3 separate regions of the Homo sapiens genome follow, and regions 2 and 3 are each linked to region 1. Evidence: promoter capture Hi-C in 16 types of primary human blood cells and fetal thymus (Javierre and others, 2016). All regions are on one chromosome and are shown on one strand. Each heading gives the region's core, a stretch centred on a gene start or on the middle of the fragment in contact. The rest is flanking DNA. Distances are from core to core; before and after follow the strand shown. Region 1 holds the start of KRTAP23-1 (keratin associated protein 23-1). Region 2 holds the start of KRTAP20-1 (keratin associated protein 20-1). Region 3 holds the start of KRTAP21-3 (keratin associated protein 21-3).

Region 1 (2,796 bases), core at 103-2,602:
ATTTCTAATTCCAAGATTTTTCTTTATACCACTGATGTTTTATAGTGGTAAAGATAATTTTAACCACTTAATATAATGGTAAATTTTATGCTGCTTTGTCTTCCTAGAAGGATGAACAAGAGAAGCTCAGCAAGGAGTGAAATGAATCACTCTGGAAGGTGTCGTATTTCTCACTCCCAACTGAGTTGGCAAAAGGTCGGCACCCTATTAAAATTCAAGCTTCTGCAAATGTATTTTATTGGTAGTCAACTCACTAAAGGCATATCAGTTTTTCGCAACTAGTCCCAGTGAAAGTCTGTGTTTGCCAAAGAATTTTCTGCCTCACACTGAAAAAGAATCTAATAACTCCATGGTGGATAAAACATGAGTTGCTTAACTAGGATAAACTGAGTGAGAGGGCAAATAGAAGATAATTTGTAACAAAGCATCTCCATAGTAACTCTGAATACTAAAAAAATAACCAAAATCAATTAAGAAGCTGTCCCCTCAGTTGGCTATATTTGGGGAATTCATAAAAGGGGTAAGAATACTCAAGTAGATATATCAGATGAAATGCAAATATTAACACCTTGGAATTTTTTTTTCACCTGCATACTCAATTGTCCATGTGATTCTGGGAGCAGAAATTACAAGCTTCACAAATTGTCTATATAGCTCTGTGGTTTGTGCTAGCCTTAAAGACAGACACACCTGGGATGACATGGGGTCCATGATTTGTTTGATTTATTACCTGAATGTTACATAACTTTTCCAAACCTCCATGGCCTTACTTCTAAATTGTTTATGACAACTTGTATCTCATAAGATATTTGCAAAGATTAAATCATACCACACTTTTAAATGTTGCGCATGTAGTTAATGCTTAATAAAACATATGTAAATAATGGGGGGTGGGTGGCTGCTGATTACTGTTGGGAGTACATTGCTGGTAAGAATTTGTAGGCTGAAGCTCAGAATACCCACAGTCAAGCTCAGTAAAAGGGGTGGGGAGGCACTGTATGTATCATCACCAATGTTTCTGAAAGCAAACCAAACCTTATTTCTGCAGAGAGAGAGAGAGAGAGAGAGAGAGAGAAAGAGACAGAGAGAGAGAGAGAGAGAAGCCAATGGGCTTCTATAAACTGGAATGATTACACTGCTGTTAAAGACAAATGAATGTGTTGAGTTATAATTATAACCTAGGTTACTTAGTCATTTGATGAAAACACATTCACAAGAATGGGGGGGTTCCCGGATACTGCATCACGCCCAGCAGTGTGAGGGTGTAAACATCACTGGATCATTGGGCACAGGCAGGGACATCAGGGCATCTTCTCAATGCAGCTCAGCTGAACTCACATCTCCTGTCAACATGTCCTACAACTGCTGCTGTGGAAACTTCTCCTCCCATTCCTGTGAGGGCTACCTGTGCTACTCAGGCTACTCCCGTGGTGGCTCCTCGTACCCCAGCAACCTGGTCTACAGCACTGAACCTTTGATCTCCCAGCACCTGCCAGCTGGGTTCCTCTCTCTGCAAGGGCTTTCAGGAGACTTGCTGGGAAACCCCTAGCTGCCAGATGTCCTGTGTGGAGTCCAGCCCCTGCCAGACCTCCTGCTACCGCCCCAGAAGCTCCGTGCTCTGCAGTCCCTGCCAGTCGACTTACTCTGAGTCTCTAGGCTTTGGATCCAGCAGCTGCCGCTCCCTGGGCTATGGATCTAGGAGCTGCTACTCAGTGGGCCGTGGGTCCAGTGGCGTCAGATCCCTGGGTTATGGAGGCTGTGGCTTCCCTTCCCTGGGCTATGGATCTGGATTCTGCCACCCAACATATGTTCTCTTTAGGACATTCCAGTCTTCCTGTTACAGACCAACTTGTGGATCTGGCTTCTACCGATCAACTTGCTAAGGGCTCCAAACCTCCACATTACAATTATTTCTCTCAAAGTCCATCTCAGCTATCATCTGGCTAGAACCTATATTCTACTATCCAGAAAAGATAATTGTTTTAAACTTATTAATATTAAAATAACATTTCTCATAGAATACTCATCTCTTTTTCTTCTGTTTTCTTGTATTTTCCCTTCCTTCTCTAGTTAAAAATGGAGCAAGAGTTGATTTCTTTTTCTTCAAATAAACTCATTTAATCTGATATCAGATCACAAATCTTGTGTTAATTTTCTTTATAAGATGTCTGTCGGGAATTTGAAACCCCCACTTTTTGTCTAAAAATAAAATATTCACTTTGAGGGAAAGGAGTAGGTTCCTTGATAGGCAGAGTTTTCTAACAACAGAGATCTAGTTCCTGGGAATTTCTGCCAAGTAGACTCAGAGATAGGACAGGAGATTATCTCTGTTTTTCTATTCATGGCCATTTAGGCCTAATCAGGACACTTCACTTTGGTTAAGCTACTCATGGGTCTAGTCTAGGAAGAAAATATCCAGAGACAGCAGTGATGTTTTAGCAAGTACTAGCCTGGCTGTTTTTATGAGAACATTATCAAAATCCTTCCTGTAATCTTCCTTCCCAGACATATATAAGCCACAATGAAATTCTGAGGTCAGGATTTTAACTGAGTTCAGTAGCAAGTGTAATGAAACAAATAGTTTAGGTATACATGAAATTAAAGATGTATGCATTCCACTATAATAAGAAGAATATAATATCTAAGAGTTTTTTTTTTTTTAATTTGATGGTTCACTCCCTCCTCCTTTCATTAGGTCACTATAAAGCCATCCGGTGTTATAATAGAAGTCACCTGAAAACTGTCTGAAACCTGGCAGTATCATGCATAGGTGACACGGACTGAGAGATAAGACTT
Region 2 (2,772 bases), core at 129-2,628, 270 kb before region 1:
AATTTTAAGAACTGGCAATGCATAGATTTGGAGTTCTGTTTCTAGATTCATTTTATTCTAATTACTGGAAAAGATATATTGTTTGCTGTATTCATTAAATCATGATACAAACTTTTAATCCCATTATCTAGTTGTATAACTTGTTTTTTAAATTTCCCTAATATAGTTTCCTTAATGTCAATAGTTTATTTTTACAGATTAATTGAGAAGTTTGATTTTCATACCATGTGGTAAAAATTCACTAAAACTCTTCCGTTTGGAAAAAATGTAAAACCCAATTAGAATATTCTAATAGTACACAAATACCAGTTTTATAAAGTATACAACTAGATAAAATTTAGTAATATTACAACAGAAATAATCTTGAATATTCATGAAAAGATGCTCTCTCCCAATATAGCAGCATGCCTAGAATACTTTAGGAGCTGTTGCATGAATGCAATGAAATATGAAATGAACTTCATTATCAAAATCGCCTATCATAAAGAGATTTCCTATAAAGACATCCAGGTTCCCAGACATGGCACAGCACTTCCTGTATACAGGATCTATATCAACAACATCAGGCAACTGAGAGGCTTCATAGTGATGAAGCTACCAGAAGGCAGACAACTTGGAAAACTCATGGAAGCCACAACTTAAAATGTGTATGTGTTTCTATGTGCTCTGGAGAAACAAGGACAGTCAGCAGCATGCAGCCACCAGCCTTAGGTGTGTAGCTTGTCAAGCTCAAGTAGAAATTATTTGAAGAGAAAGCAATCAACTGTGTCCCTACAGAAGCTCAGTTTTAAATAGTGTGAGAAATATACAGAAGGACAAAAAATAGGAAAATGAAATAAGATGTAGTGTCAACCCCTTGGGATAGTAATTATCCACAGGTTTCCATCTTACCATCATCCACATGCAAAGTTGACAATGAAAATAATAAACATGAAAACACACTATATTTGCAAACAGACTAAATTTATTTAAAGGACTTAAGAATCAAAGAATTGCATTTTAAAACCTATTCTTTATCATCTTGCACAACAGAACCAGAGAAAGACAGCATCTGTAGTTCTTTGATAATAGCCTAGTTTAGGTTTCTGCTGTTTTGAAGACACAGGATCAGATGAACAAGAGCAGCATGAGAATCCAGGTTTCACAAGCAGACAAATCTGGTGAGCTCTAGAATTGTTCAGTAGAAACCATATGACCAATATCTTCCATAGCAAGATGGGCAGTAGTAGCCATTTCCATAGCCTCCATAGCCACCATAACCACATCCATAGCCACGATAACCACAGCCATAGCCACAGCCAAGCCCACCATACCCATAGCCACCATAATAGTTGCTGTAGTAAATCATGGTGTCAGAAATGGATGGTTCAGGTGTAGAAGAGGATGTTCTTGAATTTGAACATCTCCATCTTCACAGGTCTTTTATACTTCCTCAGTAGTAGGTGTGGCAAATCACAGGCAATGTTGCTCTTATTATGAATTATTTTGGGTTGACCGCTAACACCGCCAAGGCAACACTCTCATAAATCTCTTATTTCATTAGGCATAGTGAAGCCTTCATAGCTAGGATTCCTCTAGTGTTGTGTCAAGATTTTCACAATCAAAGAATGTGATTTGAATGACAGATTTTTTTTAACCTGGTTTTAACATCCTTTTTTCCTGAGAGCACATACTAAAATTTCATGATGAGATTCTATGAAATAACAGAAACTATGCAAATCTCATCTGATTCAAATTGGTTTTGGCTTGTTAATTCCTTTACATTCATCTACCAGTTGCAGTTGAAGAAGTCTGTCTGCATGGCTTTGGGGAGACAGATGTGCCTAAGGGGCAAGTCTTTCGAGTATGAGATCTGTAATATTGCCCAATATTTCTTCAGAGATAGAACAGTTTATTTCACTTTAAATACATAAGTCAGGTAACATTTTTACAGGATACAACTTTACAAACGTACAAATGCACTTTATTTTACTGTTATACCAAATTCTATCTTGATTCATTATTTCCACTAAATGGCAAAACATTTATTCTTGTCCCTTTCAGGTAAACTCAACAAAATTCAATCACTTTCTGGTTGTCAGTATTAAAATACAATTGCAATAAAGACATTACCACTCCTCATTCTCTGCCTGAGGTGTGCTTCGATGTGCAGTGATATGCTGTTGGTTTTGAGGAGGACCATACCTGTTCTGCACTGACACCTTTGGATGGCATAACACATATTGCCATTTTCCACTGCCACAAAAATAAAACTCTGTTCAATCCATTACCTAGCATGAAGTGTTACATCCTTGGGTCTCTACAGCCAGAACAGTCTTTGGTTGTAGTAAGGAAATCAATGAGTCTCCACTCAGATCCACCTGGGTGAGAACCAATCATTGTATCTCCCCCTGCTTGTGCTATGTGTGTTGGGGAACTTGGTAGGACTTTCCCCTTCTCAGTAAAACCAGGATGTGACTTTCTCTGTTGTTAGATGTACATCCTCAATGCAGAGTTTCTCTTCCCTTCAGCTTCAAGGACATAATGCCCCTAAATGAGAACTTAAGCATGCCTGAGTTCTCTTATTCAATTGATCAACTCTCTACTGAAGCTTCTATCCAGAAAAACAGGGATGGGATGAAATAAGTAAAGACAGCAAAATTTATTCTAGTATTCTGGTTCCTACTATGAACCAAACACTATTCAAAGTGTCTGGTATGTATCAAAAGATTTGATTTTCTAAATTTCCTTGTGGGGTAGGTATCATTATTACAATCCCATTTGCAGATAGGG
Region 3 (2,925 bases), core at 379-2,878, 370 kb before region 1:
TTAAAAAGTTATTTTGTTACACAAATATGTTAGTTTATTGAAGAATGTCAAGCTGGTTTTCTTTACACAGTTGTCCTCCTAAGGATAATTAAAATGCTATCATGGCGTTCCAGTTTGTACTCCTACTACAATACCTGGCATTTAGGTGCAAGTAAAACTTACAGCGCATATGTAAATTGTGAATACTCTGAAGGTGTTTTTATTTTATAGTGTTTGATAGCACATTTTAAAATCTTGGAAACTCTATTTCTTGGAATACATTTTAATACCTCCCAGTCCTAGTGTTCCTGGAAACATAATTGGAAAATAAAATGCCACAAATTCAATGCAACCATGGCTAGTGCTCAAGGAAAGATCTTTGCTCAAGAGAATAATTTAGCAAATAATGGTTTCGAAGAAATAGGACATTACTAAGTACACTGGATAAATGGTTGTGATTTCTGTATCTCAAAATATTGAGCTGATTATGCCATTAATTTGCTCAAAATCTTCTCTGGTTCTCCATTACCTTTAGAATGAATTCCACACTTTTTACCTTAATATTCAAAGCTCTTTATTATTTGGCCCCAGTTTATTATACTTTTTTAAAATCTATTTTATTCCCTAAAGAAAAAAAGAAATTCCTGCCTTCACAGATATCCTATATTCCAGTGAGAAAAACAGTCAACAAAATTAGTAAAATGCAAGTCTATCATATGGTGATAAATGGCTTGATAAATGCTAAGTAGAGAATAAAGATATATCTGTGGGAGGGTGCTAGCTATAAATAATACTGTTCAGGGAGGGCCTCCTTGAGTGACATTTGAACACACTCTGATGGCAATGAGGGAATGAGTCATAGATATGGGTGTTAAATTGTAAAAACTGCAGGTGAAAGCCCAGCATGGATGAAGGCCCTAAGTGGACCTGGTCTGGATTGTTTTGAGGTCTATTTCATAGGATTTCTCTTTCCTTTTTCTCTAACCGCATCAATCTGAGACTTTTTTTGTGTAAATGTTTCTCTTCCTTACTAAGCTGGGAGTTCATTGAAGGTCTGTTCTTGGTCTTATTTATGTTTTTCATTTTTATTTTTATGTTATTTTCAGCAGTGCCTACTGTCATGTTCTGTTTTTTAGGAAAGTTCTCAATAAATTCTAATATTATAGAATTGAACGCATGTTTCTCAATTTAGCCTTCCTATGCCTATCCTCTCCTGAGTAGTACAGTTGTGGATTGGATGGTAATACTGGTGGCACCTGAAAAGGTAGGAATCACTAAGCCCCTTCCTTTCTCTAGGAGGCTGGGGATGGGGATTCTCAATGTTTTGGGTTAGAGCTGAGGGAAGTACTTCCCTGCAAGATTTAGCATCATGATATTTGTGGAGTGTACATTTGGGGCTCACTGAGAACATGTATACAGAGTGTACAAATTACTTTTTACAGTCTATGATTAACTTGCAGGAATTAAATGAAGGTCTAAAATGAGAGGCTTTCTTAGGACACAGAATAAAACAACAACAAGCTTGTTAAATATAAATTCTTGTGGGAATGAGAAGGCAAAGTAGGGATGGCACACACTTTGCAGACCTCTTATTATATAGAAAGATCCCAAGGGTTCCAAACTCCAGAAATGCTGTTACCTGGCTGAATTCTCATCTCCTGACACTATGTATTTCAATTACAAAAGTGTGTGTGGGAGCTGTGGATTTGGCTCTTGCTATGGTTGTGGGTATGGCTGTATACACAGCACCCACTGTGGCTGTAACGGTTATTATGGTTGTTATGAAAATAAATATTCTGTTATAGATGATCTGATATTTTTTGCTTCTAAGAAATGCCATTGAGCATTGTTTCTTATTTAGTTTCTCAAAGATCTGTTCTGCTTTAATCACCTTCAATCCTGATAGTTCTCCGTTAGAGAAAAATGACTCATCTGGTGAAAACTCCATTTGTCTTCAAAGTACCTGTTAGTCATAGACATAATGTGGTTTCACTGAGAGATGGAAAATATGACTATTTTGAAATTTTGAAAAATATAAAATGCTCTTTGTGTGCGTGTGTGAGTCAACACCAATTTGGGGCATGTTTTACCCCCTTGAAAGCCAGACCACTATGTAGATTAGTTGATCCTTAGCTTCTTAGAAATTTCTTCTTAACTTTCAATAACTCTTTTTCTCTTTATCTTTTCTACTCTACATAAAACTTGAGTTATTTAATTGTCAGTATCCACCACATATTTAATATTAAATAAATATGTACCTGTTAATTAGATATACTTCTAAATATACAAAATGAAGAAAGGAAGTGGAATGATATCATCCTTAGTGTAGAATAGTAGATTATTATCAGCCAAAGAAAAGGGAGGAGGAGAGAGAATCACTGAAACATTTTTTTTTTTTTTCGAGATGGAGTCTCGCTCTGTCACCCAGGCTGGAGTGCAGTGGCGCGATCTTGGCTCACTGCAACCTCCGCCTCCCAGGTTCAAGTGATTCTCCTGCTTCAGCCTCCCAAGTAGCTGGGATTGAGGCACCCGCCACCGCGCCTGGCTAATTTTTGTATTTTTAGTAGAGACGGGGTTTCACCATGTTGGCCAGGCTGGTCTCGAACTCCTGACCTTATAATCCACCCGCCTTGGCTACACACACACACACACACACACACACACGAACACAATGATTCTAATTCTAATTCCGTCGGCCTTTTCTCAAACATTCTCATAGACAGTTCTGTCACTTTTTTTGGGATTCTGGTTAATATGAACTCCTTAGGAGACTTTGCCTAACATTCCACTTGAAATAGAAATGACATTCTTACACTATTTCCCTGTTCATCACCTTGCATCTACTTCTCCTCTTCCTCCTCTTCTCCCTTCTCCTCCTCCTTCTACTTCTCCTCATATCTTTCTCTCTCTCAAAATCAAAGTCAAAAATCAGTTGTTTTTTTCTTC

Evidence for each region. Contacts are between HindIII fragments. The CHiCAGO score rates a contact against its expected background, and 5 or more counts as called.
Region 2: a contact is called between the fragment with the promoter of KRTAP20-1 here and the fragment with the promoter of KRTAP23-1 in region 1, in 5 of 17 cell types (naive CD8 T cells, M1 macrophages, M2 macrophages and 2 more). The highest score is 6.5, in naive CD8 T cells.
Region 3: a contact is called between the fragment with the promoter of KRTAP21-3 here and the fragment with the promoter of KRTAP23-1 in region 1, in 3 of 17 cell types (erythroblasts, endothelial precursors and naive B cells). The highest score is 7.9, in erythroblasts.

What each region holds. Positions count from the first base shown.
Region 1 is chr21:30,347,162-30,349,957 of GRCh38, reverse strand. KRTAP23-1 (keratin associated protein 23-1) reads left to right here and starts at 1,352. Exons shown (of 1, transcript NM_181624.1): 1 at 1,352-1,559. The coding sequence starts at 1,352. The coding sequence ends at 1,549. The HindIII fragment of the contact is 4,066 bases long and covers 636-2,796 here.
Region 2 is chr21:30,615,031-30,617,802 of GRCh38, reverse strand. It overlaps KRTAP20-1 (keratin associated protein 20-1), which reads right to left and starts at 1,378. Exons shown (of 1, transcript NM_181615.2): 1 at 1,104-1,378. The coding sequence starts at 1,348. The coding sequence ends at 1,178. The HindIII fragment of the contact is 4,063 bases long and covers 1-2,592 here.
Region 3 is chr21:30,717,480-30,720,404 of GRCh38, reverse strand. It overlaps KRTAP21-3 (keratin associated protein 21-3), which reads left to right and starts at 1,628. Exons shown (of 1, transcript NM_001164435.1): 1 at 1,628-1,880. The coding sequence starts at 1,646. The coding sequence ends at 1,822. All of the region lies in intron 2 of LOC105372773 (a long non-coding RNA gene), which reads left to right. The HindIII fragment of the contact is 10,011 bases long and covers 1,503-2,925 here.